Regions from separate parts of the Homo sapiens genome. Here regions 1 and 3 are each linked to region 2. The links are contacts of gene promoters, found by promoter capture Hi-C in human tissues and cell types (Jung and others, 2019). All regions are on one chromosome and are shown on one strand. Each heading gives the region's core, a stretch centred on a gene start or on the middle of the fragment in contact. The rest is flanking DNA. Distances are from core to core; before and after follow the strand shown.

The links. The method cuts DNA at HindIII sites, captures the fragments that hold promoters and counts their contacts. A contact is called where the count stands out against the background at its distance.
Region 1: a fragment that was not itself captured here is called in contact with the fragment with the promoter of HOXA5 in region 2 in 2 of the 25 tissues and cell types used here (dorsolateral prefrontal cortex and spleen).
Region 3: a fragment that was not itself captured here is called in contact with the fragment with the promoter of HOXA5 in region 2 in 1 of the 25 tissues and cell types used here (aorta).

Annotation. Positions count from the first base shown.
Region 1 is chr7:26,657,209-26,661,112 of GRCh38, reverse strand. It overlaps a transcript of SKAP2 not described here. Among named protein-coding and RNA genes, the nearest start is that of LINC02860, 21 kb to the right of the region's middle. The HindIII fragment of the contact is 9,906 bases long and covers 1-3,904 here.
Region 2 is chr7:27,140,679-27,144,941 of GRCh38, reverse strand. It overlaps HOXA5 (homeobox A5), which reads left to right and starts at 1,261. Exons shown (of 2, transcript NM_019102.4): 1 at 1,261-1,896; 2 at 2,857-3,890. The coding sequence starts at 1,335. The coding sequence ends at 3,107. The region is part of intron 1 of HOXA3 (homeobox A3); the gene reads left to right. All of the region lies in intron 1 of HOXA-AS3 (HOXA cluster antisense RNA 3), which reads right to left. The HindIII fragment of the contact is 16,485 bases long and covers 1-4,263 here.
Region 3 is chr7:26,873,492-26,877,659 of GRCh38, reverse strand. No RefSeq gene overlaps it. Among named protein-coding and RNA genes, the nearest start is that of SKAP2, 11 kb to the right of the region's middle. The HindIII fragment of the contact is 6,993 bases long and covers 1-4,168 here.

The DNA of each region.
Region 1 (3,904 bases), core at 1,355-3,854, 490 kb after region 2:
CATATTCCTTCAAATAATAATGGCTTTCATGAACTGATTTTTTAAAAATTCATTTTTCATGTGAATTACTTAGAAGATATCAAAGTAAGTTTGAGTTTATTTAAGATTATTAAGTATATTTGTTATGCAGAGTCGCTGAAGATTCCATTTTCTAGTCTAGCAATTGTAATCTATAGCGTGATGTAGTACATAATTCTGGTAACATCGGATGATGTCATGGTAGTATAGAGTTAATTCTTAGCACTTCTCTTTAAAACGGTGCTTTGTGATGTGATTCCTTGATTATTTTGAACCATTAATCAATTCTATCAGCTTAAAAAATAGACACATTGTGTACCTGTTACCACTGGTTTCTAAAATCAAAGTTTCTCTTACCATCTTAACCTTACCAGTTTAAGCTGGGAAACTATTACTTTTATAATGTGTTTATATTATTATCATTACATACTCTTTGATAAAGGAAAACAATGGGACTATACTAAATTGTGGCAACTGTGATTAAAGATAAGTCTGTTTTCTAAACTTTTCCTAAGTGATTATAGTAGAGAATTTCAAGCTATAAGTATACCATCCTTTGCTTCTCCTAAAGCTATGATCTATAGCAATAAATACTCTGTATTGATACTACTTAATTTTAATGGATGTATACTGAGGCTGGAAACATATTGTAGCTTAGCATTTAGTGCCTTAATTTTTAAACAGTTTTGAAATTTTAAAAATTGATATAATTGCCTGAATATTTTGTTATTGGACCCGTTTCATGCTAGAAGATTATTCTCATTTCACATCTTTCCTAAAAATTATGTTGTTCACAATGTATTTCTACTGACACTTCATTGCTATTTTTGCATAACTGAAAATCTGTCATTTTCATTTTAGCTCAGTTTGGAAACATGAAAACCATATCAGAGCAGCATATTAAAGATTAGTATAGAAACACACAAAAAATGAAAGAGCCACATAGAGATAAATTTAGTCACATTATTCAAGTGTGCCATTTTAATCCATTAATCTGGTTTGAGGCTGCTTAAGAGAAATATTTCTCTCTGAATGAGTTTTTTCTCTTAAAAAAATGTTGAGAAGAGAAGCATCTCATCTAAAACAATTACCATGGGTTTTTTTGTTTTTTGAAGAAAAGGGTAAAGCAAGAGCCGCCCTAAACTCTGCCATAATTTATTCTTAGTCAAAAACAGATTACCATTTACACATTAGGTATTAAAAGCTAGTTATAGTGATTAAAGGTTGTCTTTCTAATGCTATGTATTAAGATACCAATACGACATTTATTTTCAAGCTATTTTGGGGCCACAGGGGAAGTTGTTTTTCTTATGAAGGGAATTCTGTATTTTACTTCATTATTTATAAGTATATATATATTTAAAACTATACACACACACATATAACTGGGAAGGGGAGAATGGGAGCTGGTTGTTTCTTTGAATCCTAATACTGTATGTCTTCTTAATGAACCTGCCGCATTGCCCAGAAAACAGCTCCCTGCAAATAAACATGCTAGAAGTGATTTAGCCACAATGTCCAGACTGTGTAAACATCTCATTATTACAATAAAATTGTCAATAAATTTACATTACTGCTCCCTTTTCAAACGTTAACCAACTTTTTCTTCACTTGATAAAAGGGCATAAATTGTATTTTTATGTGTTGGTGTTTTTGTTTTCATTACACCTCTTGCTGCACTCTAGACAAAAGACCTCAAGCCTTAATGCCCTGAGTTATTCCTGGATGAAGAAAACTCCTACAGTTGTTTATTAATGTAATGTGCTGTGTTCCTTTCACAGTGAGATGGACATGGAGCCCTCACAATCTGATCTTTAGTCACGGCATTTTTTAAAAAGCCATAAAGCCAGTAGTATTGTAGTCACTGCAGCTTTAAGAGAGACACAAAGAATTAAGGCCCTTATAATCCACTATTAGAATGGGAATTTAAGTTACATTAGAAGCAAAAGATAAAACGGCAAAATGCAATAATTTCCTTTAATAAAGATTATGTCCAGTTTTCAGAATTATGATATCACGTCGAACATAATTGTGGAATAAGCCCCCGCCCCACCAACACACGTATTTCTTATATAACTGGTACATTAACATTAGAAAAGCAGAGTGATATTGAATTCTAATGAGGTCTGGCCTATATGCTCTGCTAGGAGAAGAATGAGGATAATTCATTTGTATTCTACAAAGCACTTGGAAATCCACGGGCATCCCTGTGGCTTCAGCACGTGGTGCTGATCATCTGTTCCTACTTGGAGTTGGTGGGGGGGTGGGGGGTGGGTATTCATTGCTTTGAACAGCATCTGAGCTGGGGAAAATAGTTAACCACTTTCTTGCTAGCTGTTGTTTCCTAATGACTATTTAATATGGTTGCTCTATGCATTTGCATTACCTATTCTCTTCAAGGATCTTAAAAATTGTGATGCCTGTGTTGGTGACAGTGCACCTCTGTAGAAGCCAAACAAAGAAAACGAAGTGAAATTCAGTAGGATAAATGTGTTTTCACCATCCTCAGTAAACATGTCAGTTTTAAGTAAACAATCAGATGACAGTGAGGTATTTGTTCATTAAAAAAAAAATCTGAAAAATGCTCCATTTGATCTGATACTGGCTGTTCAGGAAAAACTGCATTCATTTGTGAGTCTTGCTGACATTCTGAGAAAACAGCCCATTTTGGAAACTTATATTTAGTAAAACCAAGGAATGAAAGATTTTAGCAAATTGCCACGTAAAATGATCTGCACAAAAAGGCATTGGGGAAGTGAGCTAAGGCCTGTGCCAAACAGATGGCACCCCCTGCTGTGTTTTTGATTGAAAAAGAAAGGTAACATTTGCAGCCACGTCAAAGAGACAGTGATCAGCTAAACAAATTGGTCTCCAAAGTACCCCATCGCTAGAGCAAACCCCGCTGCAGGGTACAAGCGAGGCTGTATTTCAAAATAATGCTATGTTTGCGTCTTTCCTAAGTGAGGGGATATGTCCCCTTTTCATGCGGCAAAGAGAAGATGAGGTCTTTGTTGAAGTCGACTGCAGTACTATCTGCAGAATAAGCAACAGACCTCAGTAGCACAATTACCCGTTTTCTCTGATCACCGCCAAATGCCTACAAATAATATTTGGGAAGACCGCAATAGCTTCTTATATATTGTTCACTTTCCTGTGTCAGGTCTCCAGAGCTTACAGAGAGGAAATTGGTATGCAGCATACAAACAAAAACAACACCAAATCATGACAAAGGCACAGTCTGAGGAGGAGAAAGAAAGAGGAGATCAGGAAAAACTCTCCTTGCACTTGAATTCAATTGCAAAATACAAACATCAAAAATGGCAAAGTGTGTGTCAGTGCGTAAGTTGGGGCGGGGGGGGCGGGGATTTTTTTTTTCTTTGGCTCATCTCAGCTGGCAGCCTTATTCCGCTTCAGTAAAGACAAGGTACAGAAATGTCCTTTGGGTGACATTCAAAACTCGATATAAATCCTCTGCTTTATGAGACTGCAGTGCAATAAATTACTTAGCCTAATTGTAGATGTAATGAATTACCATAATTAGTCATGGGCTACATTAAATTAATCAGCATGGTACATTATTTTGCTAAATTACATCTTTGCCTTCCAAAGCCACCAGTGCAGCAATCAGTGTTTTTTGCAAGAGGGGAATGATGCTATAATGAGAAGCCTTTCTGCTCCTAGAACAGTGACAGGATATGAATTTTGATGGGAAGCAGGAAGGTTTGGAAACACTGGAGTTCCAACTTGTGCCTTAAGTGTCTTTGGTTGTTAATGATACCCCAGTCCTCCTGCAGGGGAGCAGTGGGCTGTAGCTTGCGAAGGCTGTGGAAGATTCCCCTCACAGGGGAAGAAAAACACTTAGATGGTGCTTTAAGGCAAATAATAT
Region 2 (4,263 bases), core at 12-2,511:
CCCAGCCTCCGATAGCGCCCGCGTCGCCGCCACAGCAGCGTTCAGGACCCAACGAGGGGCCCAGGGCCATGGGAGCCGCCAGAGTCCTGGCTTCCAGACGTGCCAGGGGCGCCTGCAACGCCGGGCCTCCAGCGGGGAGACTCCACTTGCCTCTCAGCTATATTTGTGATTTACTTGAGTCTTTCGGAGCCGTGGAAAATAACTACAGAGATACTAGGCACTGCCAAGGAATGCTTCCATTATCGCCCTCATTTTACTCCTGGAGGTCTAAGCAAGACCCCAGTAACCCGCCCCACGGATCCCCAGACCCCAGGCAGCCTCTGTGGCTGCAGGGAGCCTGGGCCCACTCGCTGGGTTCAAGGAGAACCCTCCGACTTGGGGCCCGGCTGGCTCGAGGAACCGGACCCTGTGATGAAGATTTTCCAGGCTGGATACGTAAGCAAATCAAATCGCAAACTAATGACACGAAAACCATATTCACACGAAAGAAAAATCGACTACGGTTATAAAAGTGTATGGAATTTGACCTCGCCTTGGAGAAACACTACACAAAAGCTATCTTTAATAGACGCCTGTCATTTAAGAGCGGCAGGGACACTGTCCCTCATGCGCTCGCAAAAACAGAGCCGTAATTGTAGCTGCTGCTGCTGCGGGCAGGATTTATTTCTCCAATTGGCTAAATGGCTTTCCCCCTTCCCCGAAGGTGATATCTGTATTTTCAAAATTCAGAGCTGCTGGCAGGACGGTCAGTACCGACCCCAACCTCGACACAAAAATAAGAGGGGCTGCAAAACGGGGGAAATAAAGTTGTTGTAAATAAAATGCAAGTCACCACCTCCCCCCAATCCTCTGCATCCTCGCCGGGCGCGCGATCGGCAGCTGACGGCCTAACAATTGGTACATCCTAATGGAACTGCGAGGGAAATGCAATAATTTTGCCATAATGGGCTGTAACCTCAATTCGACCCCGGCCCTTGCAGCCCCCGGTCGGAAGCTGGGCGATGAGCCCTGCCTCCAGCGGGTGGCGCTCGAGTCCGGCTGAACGGCGGCAACTGGCGGCGGGCACGCGCCCGGGGCGCGCGCGCCACCCCCCTCGCCTCCACCCAACTCCCCTATTAGTGCACGAGTTTACCTCTAGAGGTCATCAGGCAGGATTTACGACTGGACAACAAAAGCACGTGATTCGAAGTCGTACCCCATATTTGGGTGCCTACGTAGGAGGGAACCAAGTACATGTCCCAGTCATTTCCATAATTCATCATAAATTGTGCAAGGGTGCTATAGACGCACAAACGACCGCGAGCCACAAATCAAGCACACATATCAAAAAACAAATGAGCTCTTATTTTGTAAACTCATTTTGCGGTCGCTATCCAAATGGCCCGGACTACCAGTTGCATAATTATGGAGATCATAGTTCCGTGAGCGAGCAATTCAGGGACTCGGCGAGCATGCACTCCGGCAGGTACGGCTACGGCTACAATGGCATGGATCTCAGCGTCGGCCGCTCGGGCTCCGGCCACTTTGGCTCCGGAGAGCGCGCCCGCAGCTACGCTGCCAGCGCCAGCGCGGCGCCCGCCGAGCCCAGGTACAGCCAGCCGGCCACGTCCACGCACTCTCCTCAGCCCGATCCGCTGCCCTGCTCCGCCGTGGCCCCCTCGCCCGGCAGCGACAGCCACCACGGCGGGAAAAACTCCCTAAGCAACTCCAGCGGCGCCTCGGCCGACGCCGGCAGCACCCACATCAGCAGCAGAGAGGGGGTTGGCACGGCGTCCGGAGCCGAGGAGGACGCCCCTGCCAGCAGCGAGCAGGCGAGTGCGCAGAGCGAGCCGAGCCCGGCGCCGCCCGCCCAACCCCAGATCTACCCCTGGATGCGCAAGCTGCACATAAGTCATGGTAAAGCCAGCCTTTTTCTAAATCCACGCGACCGCGGGGACGCGGCTCTCGGTCCCCCCTCTCTTCTCTGCCGCCCTCTCCCAGTCTCTCTTGGTCTCATTTCTCCCAGCCCTGCGGAGCTCTCCTTGCCGTTCTCCCTCCCCTGCCTTCCTCCTTCCTCCTCTTCTTTGCGAGCACCCTGCGCTCACAAATAGTGGGGGAAATGGGCGTTCTCTGGGACAGTTTAGACGTTGGAAGGGGGAGGAAGCAAAAAACCCCTCTGGAACCCCACGCCTTGGGACGCGCTCCCGGGTCAGGCCAGCCGAGCAAGGCGCAGAGAGGTAGAGGATGGCTGTAGCAGCCGTGAATCGGGCTTGTCACGGCGGATAATTTATGAGGAGGGCTACGCTGGGGAAACAGCGTTACTAATTACAGCCCCCGAAAAGGGGCTTGGGGGAAAGAATCGAGGCGAGAGCCTGCAGGATTCTGAATTTTGGGGGCAGGAGGGAGAGAGAAGGAAAGGGAAGAAAAAGAAAACAGGCTCCCCAACCCTGCAGGCTGGAAACGGGAGGCGGCTCTCGGGGCTGGAACTTTGAGGGAGGGTGACCCGAAGGCCACTTGGGCGCTCAGGAAAGGGCCTTGCTTCCTGGGTTTCTGTGCGGTGGGCAGCCTGGGAGGGCTGTGCCTCCCGATCGGGGCGCCCGGGGCAGGGCGGAGGGGGCAGGAGAGGGGCCAGGGAAAGCCGGAGTCCGCCGGGACACGGCCCCAGCCTCAGATGGGCAGATTGTTCCCAGGGTCCAAATCGTATTGTTTTCTTTCTAGAAAGGAAGAGAGAAGGAAATTCGGGAGGGGTGTGCGGGCTGGTAGGCAGAACTTGTTGAGCTTTTCGCCTGGGTTCCCTGCTCATGACCCAAGCTTGTCCCCCTGGCGGACTTTGGAAGACAGGAGTTGGTGGCTAAACCGCTGACTTTTCTATTGCAGACAACATAGGCGGCCCGGAAGGCAAAAGGGCCCGGACGGCCTACACGCGCTACCAGACCCTGGAGCTGGAGAAGGAGTTCCACTTCAACCGTTACCTGACCCGCAGAAGGAGGATTGAAATAGCACATGCTCTTTGCCTCTCCGAGAGACAAATTAAAATCTGGTTCCAAAACCGGAGAATGAAGTGGAAAAAAGATAATAAGCTGAAAAGCATGAGCATGGCCGCGGCAGGAGGGGCCTTCCGTCCCTGAGTATCTGAGCGTTTAAAGTACTGAGCAGTATTAGCGGATCCCGCGTAGTGTCAGTACTAAGGTGACTTTCTGAAACTCCCTTGTGTTCCTTCTGTGAAGAAGCCCTGTTCTCGTTGCCCTAATTCATCTTTTAATCATGAGCCTGTTTATTGCCATTATAGCGCCTGTATAAGTAGATCTGCTTTCTGTTCATCTCTTTGTCCTGAATGGCTTTGTCTTGAAAAAAAATAGATGTTTTAACTTATTTATATGAAGCAAGCTGTGTTACTTGAAGTAACTATAACAAAAAAAGAAAAGAGAAAAAAAAACACACAAAAAGTCCCCCTTCAATCTCGTTTAGTGCCAATGTTGTGTGTTGCACTCAAGTTGTTTAACTGTGCATGTGCGTGGAAGTGTTCCTGTCTCAATAGCTCCAAGCTGTTAAAGATATTTTTATTCAAACTACCTATATTCCTTGTGTAATTAATGCTGTTGTAGAGGTGACTTGATGAGACACAACTTGTTCGACGTGTAGTGACTAGTGACTCTGTGATGAAAACTGTGACTCCAAGCGGTGTGTCCCTGCGTGCCTTTATAGGACCCTTTGCACGAACTCTGGAAGTGGCTCTTATAAGCGCAGCTTCAGTGATGTATGTTTTTGTGAACAAAGTTACAAATATTGTCCAAGTCTGGCTGTTTTAAGCAAACTGTGATCAGCTTTTTTTTTTTTTTTTTTTTTTTTGTATTTGTTTTTAAGGAAAAAATACTGACTGGAACAAAAAATAAACTTTCTATTGTAAGTTCTCTTGGTCTGGTTTGTGCCAAATAGTGAGCGGCTCTGTCTGCTTTTCTGTCTGTCTGTGCAGTCTTGGAAGCTGTTGGGTCTGAGGCTACCTGAGCAGATGACCTGTGCAGGGAGACCTCATACCAACACTGTCCCATCGCTTCCCTACCTCTGACCCATTGCAAAGTTCAGGGCAGAAGGTGGAAAAAGCTGTAGGCTGTTCCAAAGCCCCAGAACACCCTGTCCATCTCTGAGGAAACCAAGTTAACTTGCTGGGTACAAAAAAGAGAGAAAGAGCAAGAAAAAAGGAGAAAAAACCCAGGGCTTTGTTAGCCGCCCTCAGGCCACACAGATCCTGCCTCTTTCCTAAGGCTGTCCTAGGCCTCCACTTGC
Region 3 (4,168 bases), core at 1,536-4,035, 270 kb after region 2:
AGAGAGAGAGAGAGAGAAAGAAAAGAAAGAAAGAAAGAGAAAGAAAGAAATAAAGAAAGAAAGCGAGAGAAATGGAAAAGAAAGAAAATCCCCTTCTAATGTGTAGCAGTCAATTACAATAAAAAGAAAGCAGATAATTTGGGGATACTTCAGGAAGTCCTCTGTGCTCTAGCAAGTTAGGTAATTTTTCTAAATTTTAAAAATTGTATGTTTTCATAGCATTGCATAAAATATAAAAATAATTTTTTACCTCTGAAAAAAATAAGGTAGCTATTTAAAAAGTAAAAGCAAATGCTTATAGAAATATAAAGCAAGCTGGCTGGAGAGGAATTGGAATTGTCTGTGATTTTTTTCTCATATATATGGGTTCCTGGGGGAGGCATCATATTTGAAGTGATAACATGGTTTTAGGGTCAAAGCAAAGAACTAAAACAAGGAGGAAGCTAGTTTCTCATTACACTGCAATGTGTCTTTAGAATGTTGAACAAATGGACTGAAGGACAGCAAAGCACATCAATGATAAATTACATAATTCTTGATGTCATCTCTTGTCCCATAGACATGTCTGTGGCAGCCCACAAATTGTAAAGACTGGGAGATGTCAACAATGCTGACTTTCTTTGTTTACCAAATTTCAGTACATAAAACCACACTAAAGTAGTCATTAAACAAAGAAGAACTGAAAGGGGAAGAGTTGATATCTGAATTATTTCAATAAAAGTATCTTAAAATTATGCTATTAGGGATGAGGGTAAAAAATTGTTTAGTATTATGAAATTAAATTAAACATGGATTTGATGGATGAATATAGGGAAAAAGTATAAAAATTAAATGGGGTTGAAATGGGGGTAGGGGTGGAATAATTTCTAAGTATTGTAATATGCCATGCAAATTGTGAGCAGATATACAAGACAGTACTTAAAGTCCTATAAAAATGTGCATATGCATGTGTGTGTTTTTCTTTTGCCTAGTAGTTGGACACTATAGAAAAAGGGAGAATTTTGAGTGCCGTTTAAATCTTTTTTTTTTTTTTTTTTGAGACAGAGTCTTGCTCTGTTGCCCAGGCTGGTGTGCAGTGGCGCAATCTTGGTTCATTGCAACCTCCACCTCCCAGGTTCAAGCAATTCTCATGCCTCAGTCTCCCAAGTAGCTGCGATTACAGGCATGTGCCACCATGCCCAGCAAATGTTTGTATTTTTAGCAGAGACGGGGTTTTGCCATGTTGGCTAGACTGGTCTCGAACTCCTGACCTCAAGTGATCTGCCCGCCTCAGCCTCCCAAAGTGCTGGGATTACAGGCATGAGCCACCGTGACCAGTATAAATCTTATTTAATCATACTCATATTGGTCTTAGTCATTTGTAAGACACTACTGTTTAATATTGACAACTTTGAAAGTCACTGAAAAAAATTAAATGGCAATTTAATGTTAACAGCTGCTTATGGTTATCAAATCCATCAAACCCCTTCATGAATATATTAAGCACAAACCCGCCGAATTACTATTGCTGAAGACAGCTTGGTATTTTAAAATTGCCTAGTGAGAATAGATGTACTATAATAATAGGAAGGACTCTGGTTACAATTTACTATTTTGTCTTTACATATAGAAAGAAATCCAGACCTGTTTTTAATTATTTAATGTTCTGGAATCTTTGCCAACCTAGTTTTTTTTTTTTTTCCAAGACGGATTCTTGCTCTGTTGCCCAGGCTGGAGTGCAGTGGCACAAGCTTGGCTCACTGCAAATGGGGGTAGTTTTTATTGTTTAGCTATAAAATGATTTATAGGAGTATATTTAGAAAATCATGTTTCATCTAAATTAATGTTGTTTAAATAGCTACAATAACAAAAACAAAATTCCTATAACAAAATAATTCATATGGGCAATGGTACAACAATTCAGTAAATAGTTCATATAGAATAAATTATGATTCAGAGGCCAAGTGCGAATCTGCCAAAGTTTAATTAGTAAGGCAGCTATGTTCTTCAGTTTCATTCTTCTAGGAGACTGTCTTTTCATTAAATGTTGATAAGGATTTTGTGGGGATCAGTGCTATCCTAAAGAGAGAGCAGGGCACACAGCATAACATATGACCATGAACATCTTGCTTGCTTTACACTGCTAGTCTTGAAACCATTATTTGGAAGGCTGATGCAGCCTGCTTTCCTTTATAATGTTTTAAATTCCAAAATACTGTCTCAATTATCTTTCATCCAAAGCCATAATATGCTTAACCTAGGTATTAAACCATTAAATCCAGGTACTAAATCATTAAACATGATTTCTCAAACCAACCTAGATCAAAGTACAAAGGAAGATAGTTACCCATCCACTCTCTCTCTAATTGGTAAAATTTCAAGGAGTGCAGGAAGAGTCATCTTTAGCAATAGGGTGGATTGGGGAAAATTAACTTGTATCAGTGGCCCTGCATTTTCCCCCTTAGGAAAGCTCAAGGACAACTTTCCCTGACTCTGTTATGAACCAAGAATAAAAATGATATATTTAGGATCACTCAATTGGGCCTCTGAGGCAGAAAGTAGAGATTTTGGTGATAAGAATTAAAGGGAGAGAATCAAAAGTTTTTATCTTTTAATGTACCTGCTCACAGTTCAAGGTAACTTCATCAAACCATCGAGGAGTAGTAAAACAATTCACATGAAGAGAAGGGATTCTGCATTAAATTTTAGGTAGTAATGAAGAATGAGAATTTTCTTGGCATGTTCCTAGTGCACATACACCTTGGGGACTAAGCCTGATAAGTAATAGAAGGCAAGAATGGGATTTGGGCCCATCTCTTCTCTGGAGATCCAGGTGGAATATAACAGCAGCCTATAAATTAAGACTAAGAGTAAGGCAGAGCCAGAGTCCAAGAGGCCTAGATGTAATAAAGACAAATATGTCTCTTTATTAAAAATAAGTACAGTAAGGACTTTGTCTCCGAACCAGGCAGGAGAAACTCAGTTACTAGAGCTAGGATGTAAGATCAGAGCCAGATTATCACGAAAGCTGACCCTTCTGATGGTTAGGTCCCTGAGCACTGAGAATCTTAGATAAAGGAAATCAATTCAGTTAAAGGGAGAAGAGGGCTGCTACCTGGGCAGGGAACCAGGTAGCCTCTGACAAGTCTGGAATGGGATGGATAGTTCTCTCACCTTATTCCTAATTTGTAGAACCCTAAAGACGTACAGCATTATGTTAATTACTCAACTCTAGTTCATATTAAATTGCTTATTCTTAAAATGATTGACCAGGGCAGCAAAGTGCCTGAGTACAGTCATGTGCCACATAATGACGCTGGTCAATGATGGACCACGTATATGACAATGGTCCCATAAGATTATAATACTGTATTTTGACTGTACCTTTTCTATGTTTAGATACACAAATACCATTGTGTTACAATGCCCATAGTATTCAGTACATTAATATGCTGTGCAGGTTTATAGCCTAGGAGCAATAAGCTATACCATCTAGCTAGATGTGTAGCAGGCTATAGATCTAGGTTTGTGTAAATACACTCTATGATGACACAGACATACACAATGACAAAATCACCTAATGACGCATTTCTCAGAATGTGTCCCTGTTGTTAAGCGATGCATGACTGTGTATGTTTGTGTGTATGGGAATGAGATGGACAGCAAATCTTGCTAACTTAGTAAATTATACTAATAAGATTAATAACAATTATGAACTAAAAACTCAAATTGTGAACTGCATCTATCAGTACCTTTGGTTCTGGTTGGGTTGTATGTCACATCTTTTCAGAGTAAATGACTTCATATGAATTCCAGTGAGAATATTTTTTCTTGTTGACTGCCACACAATGATAAACTTATACCAACTAAACATGGAAGTTTCAAATGAAAACAAGGATAATAACTTAGAAAATGAAAACAAATCTTTATTTCTAAAAATTCTTAAAAGAGCCCTTACAAGATAACTTTAGAGCCAACAGGTTTTGCATTTTGTTTAGATGGATTAGGCTGCAAAGTAAATGCAATTTCAATTGCTTAATTTATTTTATTAGTTTATTTATTTATTTTTGAGATGGAGTTTTACTCTGTCACCCAGGCTGGAGTGCAGTGGCATGATGTCAGCTCACTGCAACCTCTGCCTCCCAGGTTCAAGCAATTCTCCTGTCTCAGCCTCCCAAGTAGCTGGGAC